Linked DNA regions of Homo sapiens: all the other regions are linked to region 2. The links are contacts of gene promoters, found by promoter capture Hi-C in blood cells and fetal thymus (Javierre and others, 2016). All regions are on one chromosome and are shown on one strand. Each heading gives the region's core, a stretch centred on a gene start or on the middle of the fragment in contact. The rest is flanking DNA. Distances are from core to core; before and after follow the strand shown. Region 1 has its middle 28 kb from the start of OR56A1. Region 2 holds the start of OR52B2 (olfactory receptor family 52 subfamily B member 2). Region 3 holds the start of CCKBR (cholecystokinin B receptor).

The links. Contacts are between HindIII fragments. The CHiCAGO score rates a contact against its expected background, and 5 or more counts as called.
Region 1: a contact is called between a fragment that was not itself captured here and the fragment with the promoter of OR52B2 in region 2, in 3 of 17 cell types (monocytes, M2 macrophages and M1 macrophages). The highest score is 6.4, in monocytes.
Region 3: the fragment with the promoter of CCKBR here is called in contact with the fragment with the promoter of OR52B2 in region 2 in 1 of 17 cell types (monocytes); the score reaches 5.2 in monocytes.

What each region holds. Positions count from the first base shown.
Region 1 is chr11:6,055,966-6,060,744 of GRCh38, reverse strand. It overlaps the pseudogene OR52L2P. Among named protein-coding and RNA genes, the nearest start is that of OR56A1, 28 kb to the right of the region's middle. The HindIII fragment of the contact is 2,133 bases long and covers 2,234-4,366 here.
Region 2 is chr11:6,167,558-6,172,083 of GRCh38, reverse strand. OR52B2 (olfactory receptor family 52 subfamily B member 2) reads left to right here and starts at 1,758. Exons shown (of 1, transcript NM_001004052.1): 1 at 1,758-2,729. The coding sequence starts at 1,758. The coding sequence ends at 2,729. The HindIII fragment of the contact is 5,039 bases long and covers 1-2,220 here.
Region 3 is chr11:6,256,631-6,261,361 of GRCh38, reverse strand. It overlaps CCKBR (cholecystokinin B receptor), which reads right to left and starts at 1,524. Exons shown (of 5, transcript NM_176875.4): 1 at 1,283-1,524. The coding sequence starts at 1,433. The HindIII fragment of the contact is 1,486 bases long and covers 830-2,315 here.

The DNA.
Region 1 (4,779 bases), core at 2,051-4,550, 110 kb after region 2:
GAAGGGGAGTAGCTAAGAAAGAGAATTAACTTCCTCAGTATGTGGAATATTAAGCACTGAAAGGTGATTTTTTTTTTTTTTTTTGCAAGAGTATAAGATTCCCCTGGAAGTCTCAATAAAAATGTCATCATTATTTTAAGTTGACTCTTGAAGAAAGACAAAGGCTGGGAGACATATGCCCACCTAGAATTTCAGAACTTATAGTTGTTATATTGAGAGTTTGGGGGCAATATGATAGTTCCCAAACATTATTGATTTGTAAAAAAGACACACTGAGTGATCTATAGATGCATAATCCACAAGAACTGAGTCATTCTTGACTTTTAAAAATCTTCACATGTACATGTACACGAACCACCACCCCAACAAAGAAAAATATAGTTGTTTCAGACTACATCTGTCTTTTAAGATAAACATACAGACACAAATGTAACCAGTTGCAAGTTTCTTATTTTAATACTTGAGGGGTGAATCCCATGGAGAAGGTTAAACAGACAGCTGTTTATTCAATAGTTCATGTTAACGTGGGGTGTCAGAGACACTGAATTGCTATAACATCATGATGACAGGTAAACATATCAAAAGTTTGAATCAGAGAAGCAGAGTCATGAAGACAAAGAAGAAAGGAAAGGTAATTATAGTTATCTTTTTAAACATTAATAATATTGCTATTAATATTTGCCATTACTTTCAACGGCAAAAATCACAATTACTTTTGTACCAACTTAATAAAAGATGACTAAGAGCTCATAGCCATCTTTTATTAGTAACATTAAAAAAGAACTATAATTTATAGACTATACTTTATAAGGTAACCTATATATCAAGACTTTACATACATTAGTTAAAATTTTTAGTATTTAAGATTAATATTATTTATTCTAATATGAAATAAGGAAATTAAGACTTAGAGAGTTTTAGAAGCCTAGCAAGATTTTATTCCTAGAATATGAAATGGACAGAATTTTAACAAACTTTGCCCGCAAAGCTTGTATTTATCACACTGCATTGTGAAGCATCCATGCTAGCTTATAATCATGACATGTAATGAGATACAGTTCTTTAAAACAAGCCATTAAGATGCTGACAGGATTTCTATGATGGAGATAAGCAAGAAAGTTATGGATGAACAAAGAAGGATCATAACATACAGTGCTCGTGACATAATCACTCTTGACCTAACACAGCCAATGAGTCCTTTTGAGCAGCAGAAGAGAGTAGACTCTAAATTTTCAAGAGTGAGGAAGACCAATTCAGATAAAGGAAGTGGAAGAAAGACTACACAAAAGGCATATGTAAAATAGGAGAGTTTAGTCATATAACTCCAAGAATGTTGGAATGGTTTAGTAAAACATACATGTAGAAATATGTTAACTGTAAGACCAAAGTAATACACAATAGATAACCCTTGAAAACCTTTAATGCAGTCTTAAGAGTATGATTTTATTCCATGCAATAGATTCACTGAAGGATTTTAGCCATAGGCACGACATAACGACATCTGCATTTTAGGAAAAACCTGACTTTAAGGTTGAGAGTGAATTGGGAAGATGTTTACAGCAAAGGCAGAGAGATGTAATGAAACAGTACAGGTGAGAGAAGTTGGATGTTTGACATCGGGGGTTGAAAACAGGAGTGGATATAACAGCTATGTGTTAAAAATGCAGTTAACAGGAATTGGCGAATGGGGAAAAGGGATGAGAGATAAGAATAAGTAAAGATAGTTTCCGAGTTTCTAGATTGGGTTTGGTAGATGGATAGTAATGTAATTCATAAAAATATTGCCAAAGGTAGGTAGGACAGATTTAAGAAGGATAGATGAATTAATTTAGTTTTGAATATGTTGAGGCTATAGTATAGCTATTCAGGAAGCAAATGGAAAGAATGATTTGTGTTTCAGAAAGATATTTGACTTAGAAACACAGATTTGAAAGAAATAAAAGTAGATAGATAAAACTATGAAAGTGGATGAGGTCAATTCAGAGATAATGTACTGAATAGGGAAAAGAGGAGAGGATGGATCCCTGGAATCAACAACATAATGAGATGGAGAAAATGGTGGGACTGAGGCTATAGGAGAAACAACTCTAGAGTGCCACTTCACGGAAACTGAGGGAGGCTAATTTCAAAAACAACAGTTTAATTTACTGTGTTCAGTAACGCCAAGAGGCTAATAAAGAGAACCCTTTGAAGTTGGCAGCTTCAAAACATAAGCAACTGAATGGTTAAAGCTTATGCATCTCTCCCAAAACAGTGTATGTTTACTCTTATCTCTAAAAAAACTAGACCTATTCTAATTCAGACATGTGGATGTCTCACCTGTAAAAAAATTTATCTCCACCAAAGATTTTCTTTCTTGTATCTAACTTTATTCCCTTTGGTTGCAGTTTTAGTCACTTTATTCTTCTCATGAAGATGGTAGACAATGTGATCTGGACTATGTGATAATGTACCAGAAATGCAGAAATCATGAATTTGGATTCTTTTTTCTCTTTCCTCCTCAAGTCATTGATAATGGCGCTTAGCAATTCCAGCTGGAGGCTACCCCAGCCTTCTTTTTTCCTGGTAGGAATTCCGGGTTTAGAGGAAAGCCAGCACTGGATCGCACTGCCCCTGGGCATCCTTTACCTCCTTGCTCTAGTGGGCAATGTTACCATTCTCTTCATCATCTGGATGGACCCATCCTTGCACCAACCTATGTACCTCTTCCTGTCCATGCTAGCTGCCATCGACCTGGTTGTGGCCTCCTCCACTGCACCCAAAGCCCTTGCAGTGCTCCTGGTTCGTGCCCAAGAGATTGGTTACACTGTCTGCCTGATCCAGATGTTCTTCACCCATGCATTCTCCTCCATGGAGTCAGGGGTACTTGTGGCCATGGCTCTGGATCGCTATGTAGCCATTTGTCACCCCTTGCACCATTCCACGATCCTGCATCCAGGGGTCATAGGGCACATCGGAATGGTGGTGCTGGTGCGGGGATTACTACTCCTCATCCCCTTCCTCATTCTGTTGCGAAAACTTATCTTCTGCCAAGCCACCATCATAGGCCATGCCTATTGTGAACATATGGCTGTTGTGAAACTTGCCTGCTCAGAAACCACAGTCAATCGAGCTTATGGGCTGACTGTGGCCTTGCTTGTGGTTGGGCTGGATGTCCTGGCCATTGGTGTTTCCTATGCCCACATTCTCCAGGCAGTGCTGAAGGTACCAGGAAATGAGGCCCGACTTAAGGCGTTTAGCACATGTGGCTCTCATGTTTGTGTCATCCTGGTCTTCTATATCCCGGGAATGTTCTCCTTCCTCACTCACCGCTTTGGTCATCATGTACCCCATCACGTCCATGTTCTTCTGGCCATACTGTATCGCCTTGTGCCACCTGCACTCAATCCTCTTGTCTATGGGGTGAAGACCCAGAAGATCCACCAGTGAGTGCTCAGGGTGTTTACACTAAAGGATTGACCTGAATATATTCTCACTGTTTCCTTCAGAGGCACCTGCCAGGACATAGCCAGGAACTCATGGCTGGTGCAGATTATATGGATGGGGTAATTTTCACAGCGAGCAGTCCTTCTAGTGTCACATATCACAGCAAAGAATATCCAGAGGCACCTGGCTTCACAGCTTATTGGGATGTATCTGGATACCTGAATTTGTGAATAGTTTTTCCATTCTTTCTTTTGCTCCTGATTCCAACATTTTCCTACTCCTGTGTCAGAGAGACTTGAGGACAGTAGAAATGGATGACAGCTCTGGATGTGTCATCTTTCCTGCCATTGCCCAGTGATAGACTATGCAACATTCTCTGGAATGGCAATGGGAAGTCCCACCCTCAGCTTGGTTTTAGGTTTAGAGTGTCTTCCAAACCTCTAAGTTTGTGCTGGCAGCACATTTACATGGTACAGCCATTCAGCTAAATGCTAGTGTTAACCCTTTAGATGAACCTTTTCGTGTCTTTTAGGATGACTTAGATTCCTTTACTTTTCTGCCACATCAAAATGCATAAATTAGGACATTTCTAAAATATTTATTATGCATATTATAAATGACTTTTTTCTTGCATTTACTCTTTTCTTTAAGGGATGAGTTTCTCCGCTTGTTCAGCCTGGTCCTTTCTTCACGATACTAGTTTTTTCTCAATTATTTGTAGATTTTTACTCTTATTTGTTTGTAGATGAGAATTAAATGGTTGGGTCCTCGCTGTGAGTTTTCTCAGAGCCTGTAAAGGTCACTGCTCTTGTGCCCCAATTGTAGGACTTTGTAGGTCATTGTACACGGATTTGCTAACAGACAGAATTCTCCTCAGGCTGTCAAGAGGAAAATGAAAGATGAGCTGCATTCCCTCATCTTTTGCTGAAGTAGAGAAGCTTTTATATCTGCAATCAGAGATAATCTGGTATAGTTTGCTGACCTGTGGAGCTGCCTCTCCATACCTTTTCTCTATTTGTAACTTGGAGAACCAAAGTTACCTTGTAATTGCCTCTGATTACATCTGCCCCACTGCAATTATAGGGTTTGAAGATACAAAGTTGCCTCTTGCATTTTATAGGGAGCCAGGTTTCATACTAAACTGATCCAATTGCTGGAAGTAGAATAACAATAAATTAATCAATGCACTAATTAATTGCTTTCAATTACTGTTATCATTTTATTGATTTTAAACTTGGAGTATCCCTTGGGATCTCTTAAAATTTTTAGATTTTAAAAATAGATTCAGGGGTTACATATGCAGGTTTGGTACAGGGATATATTGTGTAATGATGAGGTTTGCACCCTGAATCT
Region 2 (4,526 bases), core at 509-3,008:
TATACATATATGTATATATATATATTTTAAAGAGACAGAGTCTTGCTCCATCACCTAGGCTGGAGTGCAGTGGTGCCATCATAGCTCATTCACTGCAGCCCCAAACTCCTGGGCTCAAGAGATCCTCCTGCCTCCGCCTCCAAGTAGCTGGGACTACAGGTGCGTGCCACCATTCCCGGCTAATTTTTAAATTGTTTTGTAGCGACAGGGTCTTGTTATGTTACCTAGGCAGGTCTTGAATACCTGGCCTCAAGCGATCCTCCCATCTTGGCCTCCCAAACTTCTGGGATTATAGGCATGAGACACTGTGCCTGGCCCAAATATTTAAAATATACTGACTTGAATGCTGTCAGATTATTAGCCTGCCTGCGGCCTTTACTTGTCTGGATCTGGCTCTATTCCCTTCCTTGTACCCATCTGGAGTCCCATTGCTCCCTCCCCACAGCCCACTGTGCTCTGAGAAAGTTCATTTGCATAGAGGCAGAGGGATGGACTAATAAACTGAGGATTTGATTCCTTTGCATCTCTTCTTTGGGGCCCTCTGAATACCATTATCAGAAGATCAGTCTAGTGTTTATTTGGTACCTTTATAGTTCTGATTCTCTCTTTACTGTCTCTGTGGTCCCTTTTCTTCATGTTCCCTTCTAGATTCTTAATCATACACTCTTTCCCTAGTCCTAATAGCTGACAGATAGTTCAGAACTTCAGAATGAAACAAATATTACCTGAGTGGCAGGCAAGCCAAGAAGGGCTCTATACTTAATCCTTCTTGGCAGCAGGGAAACATGGTTCCTTCTGAGCGTTGGGGAACAGTGGGGTGGGAAGAAGGGCAGTATTAGTGGAGTCAGCAGAGTTTACAGGTGGGCAATAGATTGATTTCTTTTGCTCAGAATCGTTTTCCTGGGGGGCTTCTACAGATAAGGAAGCCCAGACATAACCAAGAGGCTCCTGTATAGAAATATTTGAGGAGGAGCATGAGAAGTCCATGAGGAGCTGGTGATGAAAATTGCCTGTCTCAGTTTCATTGGCTGCCCCATTGCTCACTGCATTAGGGAAGATATGAATCTGGATCAGAGTGGAGAAATGTACCCCTCTAGGCTTCCTCTGGATTCCCACTTGATACTCTACTCCCTTGCACAAGGGGCCAGAGGTGCAAGTGTCCTGTGAAATGTTCAAGGCAATAGCCAGATAAACTTAATAGGATTAAATATAACCCAGTTAAAATATAGTTTAGTTAATAGTTTTTTAGGAAGGAGATATATTGCTATGAACACAGACCATTACAAAGTGGTATGTCTTGAGGACTTATTTTAAGGTTAAAATTTTGTTAAACAGAAGTAGAAGGGGAGGGAAATTAAAGGTAAATGCAGAACAAAATCTTGGGGAAAGGGACAAGTACAACACAGGTAGGTGGAAAATGCTGCTTGTGTGGAAATAGTAGAATGAGGTCAGAAAGGGAGAGTGAGGCCAAACTCTGGGGGCAGGGTGGTTGCAGGAAGGTGCTGCCACTTCTGTTCATACTTGAAGCATTATTGCCACAGAAGCTCTATCTGCAAAGGAAGCACTATGGGCCAGAAGCCATTCCTATACCAAGTGAACATTCTCTGGGAGTACTTGCTGCTGGAGAGTCCAGCAATTTAGAAATCCATGCTGTCTTTTATGATATTTATACATATTCGGGAGTGCTTTCTGTTTCTATCACTTTCAGTAGACTCATCAGCTTCTAAGTCATTATAGAGAGGACCATAAAGTGCATCATGAGTCACACCAATGTTACCATCTTCCATCCTGCAGTTTTTGTCCTTCCTGGCATCCCTGGGTTGGAGGCTTATCACATTTGGCTGTCAATACCTCTTTGCCTCATTTACATCACTGCAGTCCTGGGAAACAGCATCCTGATAGTGGTTATTGTCATGGAACGTAACCTTCATGTGCCCATGTATTTCTTCCTCTCAATGCTGGCCGTCATGGACATCCTGCTGTCTACCACCACTGTGCCCAAGGCCCTAGCCATCTTTTGGCTTCAAGCACATAACATTGCTTTTGATGCCTGTGTCACCCAAGGCTTCTTTGTCCATATGATGTTTGTGGGGGAGTCAGCTATCCTGTTAGCCATGGCCTTTGATCGCTTTGTGGCCATTTGTGCCCCACTGAGATATACAACAGTGCTAACATGGCCTGTTGTGGGGAGGATTGCTCTGGCCGTCATCACCCGAAGCTTCTGCATCATCTTCCCAGTCATATTCTTGCTGAAGCGGCTGCCCTTCTGCCTAACCAACATTGTTCCTCACTCCTACTGTGAGCATATTGGAGTGGCTCGTTTAGCCTGTGCTGACATCACTGTTAACATTTGGTATGGCTTCTCAGTGCCCATTGTCATGGTCATCTTGGATGTTATCCTCATCGCTGTGTCTTACTCACTGATCCTCCGAGCAGTGTTTCGTTTGCCCTCCCAGGATGCTCGGCACAAGGCCCTCAGCACTTGTGGCTCCCACCTCTGTGTCATCCTTATGTTTTATGTTCCATCCTTCTTTACCTTATTGACCCATCATTTTGGGCGTAATATTCCTCAACATGTCCATATCTTGCTGGCCAATCTTTATGTGGCAGTGCCACCAATGCTGAACCCCATTGTCTATGGTGTGAAGACTAAGCAGATACGTGAGGGTGTAGCCCACCGGTTCTTTGACATCAAGACTTGGTGCTGTACCTCCCCTCTGGGCTCATGAATCTTCATGTCCAGCTCCTTCAAGGAAGCTAGATGTGAAATACAGAGATTTCCTGGACTGAGAAGGCTTTTCTTCCTCTTCTTTCTATTTCATCTTCCGCCCCCAACTTTTCTTTCTTTTCTCATAATTCTTCCTCCTTCTCTTGTTTGTTTTCTCTAACCTCTTTACATATTCCTCCCTACAACCCAGAAATAATAACTAAGTGTACATGCCTCTGATATGAGGCTTTGGTACCCTCAGTAGACTAGATAGACGCCAGAAGCGCAGGGATCTGAACACCACATGAAATGAGGTTATAAAGAAGTGGATAAAAATAATTTTATATTTACCATTTTAAGGGGTTTTAATTTTTTAAAAAAATCCCAAATGTGCATTGATTCTTTGTACAGAATCAAGTGGCCTGCCACCCACTACCACAATGGCAGGTGAGTTTGAGGAACAGCCATGCATGACCTTTGGTCATCTGGAAAAACTTCCTTTCCTTCAAATTTTAGTTCAAGAAAAGTTGAGTCTTTTCTAATTTCTCCAGGCAAGCCAAGGGTCCTATGTTTGCATGTCTAGTGTATCTTGTACAAATCTCCAAATGTGCATAATAAATTGTAATGTAATGAGTTGTTCATTTATTTGTACCCTCAATTGACTGCAAACTCCTTGAAATCAGAAGAGTGTATATTATTCATATTTGTATCCCCAATGCATTACAAAATGCCTGACACATACTACATTTTTGAAAAATGAATGGGAGCGCAATTATCTCCTTGAGATCAGAACAGGCATCTCTATGGTACACTGAAATGACCAGCTAAATTATTTCACAAAACCAGTGATTAGTAAATCAGCTCCTCATGAAGGCAGTTTGGCATAATTGAGCCAAATCAACTGCTGATTTGCAGTACTTCTCTCTGCTGTAACTCAGGGACCAGCGAAAAGACAAAGTAGGAGGAAACAGGGTACTCTTGATTCTCTCTTATATCTAGTTTTTGACCAGACCCAGAATTAGGAATTATAGTACATTGTTCATGGCCAGGTTGGCAAAATTGGAGTACTCTCTTGGGATTCACAGTCTCAACTCTTATTCTTTTATGCTTTTCCAGAAAAGGTCATGTACACTCATTTCTTTAGCCACCACCAACACTAATGAGTCCCATATCCCTGTCTCTAGTCTAAAGCTCTCTTTTGAGTGTTAGACACATAAATCCACCTATTAACTGGTTATTCTTCCTAGGATGTAGAACTCCCACTCCACTTTTCTTCCTACATTTCATTTCTTGGGAACTAGATTATGATGATCCCATCAACTTCACTGAGCTGGAAACCCTATAGTCTTTTTCAACTTTCTCCTCTTAGGGCTGATACTCAAAAAGTTATTGGTTGATATTTATATTGATTGTACCACTAAATAAGTATATGGATAGTATTTGGACTCATATCAGGACTCAAGTCTTGTCATCATCATTTTCTAGCTATGCGAACTTGCACAGTTTGTTTAACATTTTTGGTTCTCAATTTTTAAATCTATAAAATGGGTACTTTATAGGTTACCTTCACAGGGTTATTTAGAAGATTAAATGAAATAAACCTTATGACTATACTTAACATAATCTTTAGCTCATAGTTTCTGAGAAATATTTTGTTAATACTTACTAGTATTGTTAGTCTTTTCAACACTGCCTATACAAATTACTTATGACTTTTCTCATCTTTCACTTCAGATATTGCATTACTTTCTTAGCTGAGATCAATGTTTTCAATCTTTTACGCATTAGCCTAAACTATGAAATGACTCTACATTAAATT
Region 3 (4,731 bases), core at 275-2,774, 90 kb before region 2:
TAATTCTCAAGGAGGCTGGGCTGGGCTAGAGGTGTTCCACTTGTGTTCCCACTATCTTTTCCCTGTCAAGGCTCTTCCACTTTGTGCTGCAATCCCCTGCTTTTCTGTCTCGCCCATTAAACTTTGAGCTCTGTGAAGTAGGAATTGTGTCGGTTTTGTTCAACTTACATTCCCACTGCCTAGCACAATCTCTGGTTCAATAAATATTGGCTGAATGACAGAATCCAAGTGTGAGTGTGTAACAACTCGGCTGAGAAAGCATAGATTATTTCGTGGGGTAAATAAATACTTGGATTACAATTTATTCCAACTTTCCCTTTTTGAGTTTAGAAAAATTTCCTTCTGCTTAACATTGCTCCTTCACCTAGAATCCCACTCCTTCCTTTTCTGCCTACTCAACTTCAAGACCCAGCTCTAAGGTTCTAGCCTCTGTGAAGTTCTTTTGGTGCCCACAGTTTAGACCCTTTCATGGGACTTCCATTGTGTCTGTGATTTTTCCATTTGCTTGGTTTCTCTCTGCACTTGGCTATGGGCCATGAGGGTCCAGACTGGGTCTAGTTTGCCCTGTGCCCCCAGCACCTAGCCTAGGGCTGGAGAGAGAGCTTGGAAGATAGCTGGAGACATTACTTGCAGACAAAGAGAGAGGGCACAGAGCCTCGAAAGCTCCAACTAGGGAGGCAGAGGGGTTTGAGAAGGAGTGAAATGGAGGCAGGCAGCTCTAAGGAGCATCCCCTAGTGTCCAGCCTAATTCAGATTTGAGGATCTTTTTTGGGATGGCTGGGGGCTGGGGTGTCAGATGTGATCACAACTTCAGCTTCGCATTCAAGCTTTCCAGAGTGCTCCCTCCCTCAACCAGCCCCCTTCTTTTCCCAGTCCTGCCTTCCTTTCTTCCTTCCCTTCTCTGTTGTGGCTCTGTGAACTGGATGTAAGAGGGAAAAGGAGATCTGCAGGGTTGGCAAGAGGAGGTCCTCGCCTTCTGACTGGTGTCTAGGAGGGGCTGCGTGTTGGGGAAGGGGCTGTGCTTTGGGGTGAGCAGGGGCTCTAGGTGTATTCAGGGGACCAGGATGTGAAGGAGTTCCGACCAGGTGGTGTGAAGCTGTGATGAAGTTGTAGGCTGTGGGGGTGAAGGTGTGAGGGGAGCTGTTTGGGGGCTGAGGGAGTACTATGAGAGGCACGGTGTGGACGTTTGAGAAGGTAGTGTGGAGCTCGTTGGGGGGACTCTATTAGTGTTCTGGGGTACAGTGAGAAATAGCTTGTGGGGGGGGCTGAGGGAGGCACCCACCTCGTGTCCCGGCTCCGCGAATGCGAGGGGGCTCGCAGCTGAGGTTGCCCACACTGCTGCTGTTGAGGAGAGGCGCCCCCGGGCGGCACAGGGAAGCCCCCGGCCCGGGTCCGGTTCCCTGCACGCTCCGGTTCAGCTTTAGCAGCTCCATGGCCCCCGCCGAGCCCGCCGCCTTACTCAGCTCGACCCGGCGGGCTCCCAACGCGGCTCCACCTGCTCACGCTGCGATTCCGGCTCAGGCTCCCGCCGCCCTCCTCTCCCTGCCCCCTGCCCCGCCTGGTCCCCGCCCCCAGCCCAGGCGCCTGCCCTCCACTCTCCCGCGGCTCGCCCCGCCTGGGTTCCCGTCCCTCCGCCAGCCTCTGTCCCGCCAGGTGACTGTGCACCCCCTCCCTGGCTCGGGAGTTCTGCCCCTCCCTGTGCGACTGTCCTCCAGGCTCGCCCCCTCCCTAGATGTGTCCCGTCTCCTCTTAGAGATTTCTCTCCTGCCCACCTCTCTTTATCACCCGCCCCCACCCCCGATTCCCAGGAATGAGAGAGAGAGAGAGAGAGAGAGAGAGAGAGAGAGAGAGAGAGAGAGATTGAAGACAAGAGTATTGGCAGCGTAGGGGGAGGTTTCGGGGAAGGGAGGGTAGGAGGGGTTGGGTAGAGACGGCTGCCACGGATCCAGCATCTTTCTCTGGTGTATCAGGGAACGTGGAGGTGGCGTTGGAGACCAGGTCTGCGTGCGTCACCTGCTGAGGCGCGGATGCTTTAGTCTGAGCCTAGAGCCGCATTTACCGTACTGTGTTGCAGTGGCCGCAGTGACCGTGACACTATTGCTACCGTAGTTCCCTGCAGCTCCTCGCTGCGGGCCTGGGGTAGCTCCTGCATCTGTCTCCGCACCCTCCATCTCCTGTCTGAGGCTTAACACTCAGGCTTGCACTTAAGGGTCCCAAGGAGCCCTCCACAGCTGGGCGGGAGTGGGGGTGGGGCCGGGGCCGAGATTTGGCTCCAGGGAAGCCTTGCCAGGGAAAAGGGCTCCCGGGAGGAAGCTTCTGACTTGAGTGTTGAGGGCAGTTGGGGGTGGTGGCAAGCACTGACAAGGATAAACCAGAGTAAGGTGAGGATGGGATATAATTCTAACGCCGGCCCAGCGCAGGCAAAAGAGAAGGAGAAGGTTGGCTTTCTCCACCGTCTCCAGGCAGCGCCCACGCCCACCCGACACGCTAACGCTCCCTGTTTGCTCTCAGTGCAGGCAGAGCTGCCTGTGTAGGGTGTCAGGTTCCCACGAGAGGGGGCTAGAAGGGGACTGGGTCACTGCGGTGCAGCGGGAACAGGGCTGAAGGGTGCAGGACTGAACTGGGTTCAGCTTCTCGGGGCAGGATTTGCCTCTTCTACTATTTCAGCCCTGCTCCCTATGCATTCTCCTATCCATTCCTTTTCTTCCCCAGATTCCTATCTCCAGATTCCTATCTCCAGATTCCTATCCATTCTTCAGATTCCGGATGAACTCCAATACGATGTGAAATTCTTCTGACCCCCAGCAGTAGCTGTAAGAGGTTGGGGGCGGGCATCAGTGGAAGAGCAAATTAGAGAATGGAGTCTGGCTTTATGGGGGATTCAGCAGGCCCTTATCCAATTAATCTTTTGGAGAGGACCTGGTTCAGCCAGCCCTGAGTTTATAGGGGCTGAAGCATTGAAAGAGAGTTGAAAGACAGTTTATGCCTGAGATGTCATCAACTGCTCCCCCTTTCCTTCCTCCTGGTACTGCCTGTCTTGCCCATCAGAGAGCCTGGACCAGAGGAGCTTGATTTGCTATTTGTTCCGCTCCAGCACAGGTGGGGCCTCAGATAACCTGCTCAAGTTTTCCCACATTGGATGACAGTACGATGAGGAGGGAAGGGAGCAAAGGATGTAAGGGAGAGGGGAGTGAAAATAGAAATAGATGGACATTCACTTATTTAGCAAACTATGCCAGTTCTAGGGGTATGCACTAGTTGTCCAATATAGTTTGCCCCTCAGTAGCACCTACTCTAGTGGGATTTTCCCAAGCAAGCCAATGATTGTAATATATGGTCGTTAAGTGCACCCACCAGGATGTACAAATCAGAAATTTAGGAATTATTATTGATGCCTTACTCCCCTATGCTCCTTCACCCCTGCGCTGGATGCTGTGATGCAAAGCCCAGAACCCTCTTCAAAAATGGAGGATTTATTTTCCAGCTGTGGAGAGTGCTCCTAAAAGATGGCCCTCAGCTGTCATAACCCTTCAGGAGTTGCCTAAGCAGAAGAAAGCCAGCTCATCCAAGGTTATGCTCCCTTTCTTGGGCATTCTATATCCAATGACCGATCAGCACAGAGGTATAAAAGTTTAATCCCCTCAACCCAGTGGTGGACAACTCTGAAAGATGCTCACACCCCTAGAACCCTTCATATGGTTGACTGAGGTCTTTGCTGGGACTGAATTACTACTCAGCTTCTCCTTTTGCCCAATCCTATTTTCATCCTCTCTCTTGCACAGGTGTTAACTCCAAGAACGCTCCTTAGTAAACATCCTCCACAGTAATCTTTGTTTGAGAGTCTGCTTCCTGGGGAACATAACTACATCACTCCCATATTGAATCAATCACAAAGTCCTGTTCATTTTAGCTACTGAGTGTTCCTTGAATCTGCCTGCTTATATGTCCACTGATATTACCCTACTCTTGAACCACACTCCTAACCTCCTAAATGGGCCACCACATTTTACTGATGCCTCTCTACATCTATACTTCACCTTAAAGCCGAAGTACTATGCTCAGAATACAAATCTGACTATCCCACTCTTTTGACCTTTGCTTTTGGGAATGAGAAAACATATTAACAGAATTTAGAAAGCCTGTGAGGCCTGGCTCCCACTTACCTCTCTAGCCACATTATTTCAAATCACATTATTTCAAATAAGAGTCACAATGATTCTTATTCTCTCCACTGTAAACACATTAGCCTTTTTTTGGTCACTCCTTCTTTTTTCTCTTTTATTTTTCTTTTTTCTTTTCTTTTTTTTTTTTTTTTTTTTTGCTATATGTCCTTCAGTTGCATGACTTTTCCATATGCTCTCTGGAAGCTTCTTCTTTCCTTCCTTACCTAGTTAACACTTACTCATCCATCTGATCTCAGCTCAAGCTACGATTCTTCAGGGATATTTCCCCTGGCTTCCTCTCCTTGGGTAGGCAGAATTAGAAGATGACCACCAATGACTGTCACCCTTATATAATCTTCTTTTGTGTGTGGATGGACCTGTGCATATGATGAGATACTACTCCCACAATTATGTTATATGGCAAAAGGGATTTTGCAGATGGAGTTAATTCTACTAATCAGTTGATCTCAAGATAGACAGATTATCTGGCTAGTCCTAACCAAGTCACATGAGTTCTTTAAAAGCCAAGGGTTCTTTTTTTCTTGCTGGTAGCAGAAGAGGAAATCAA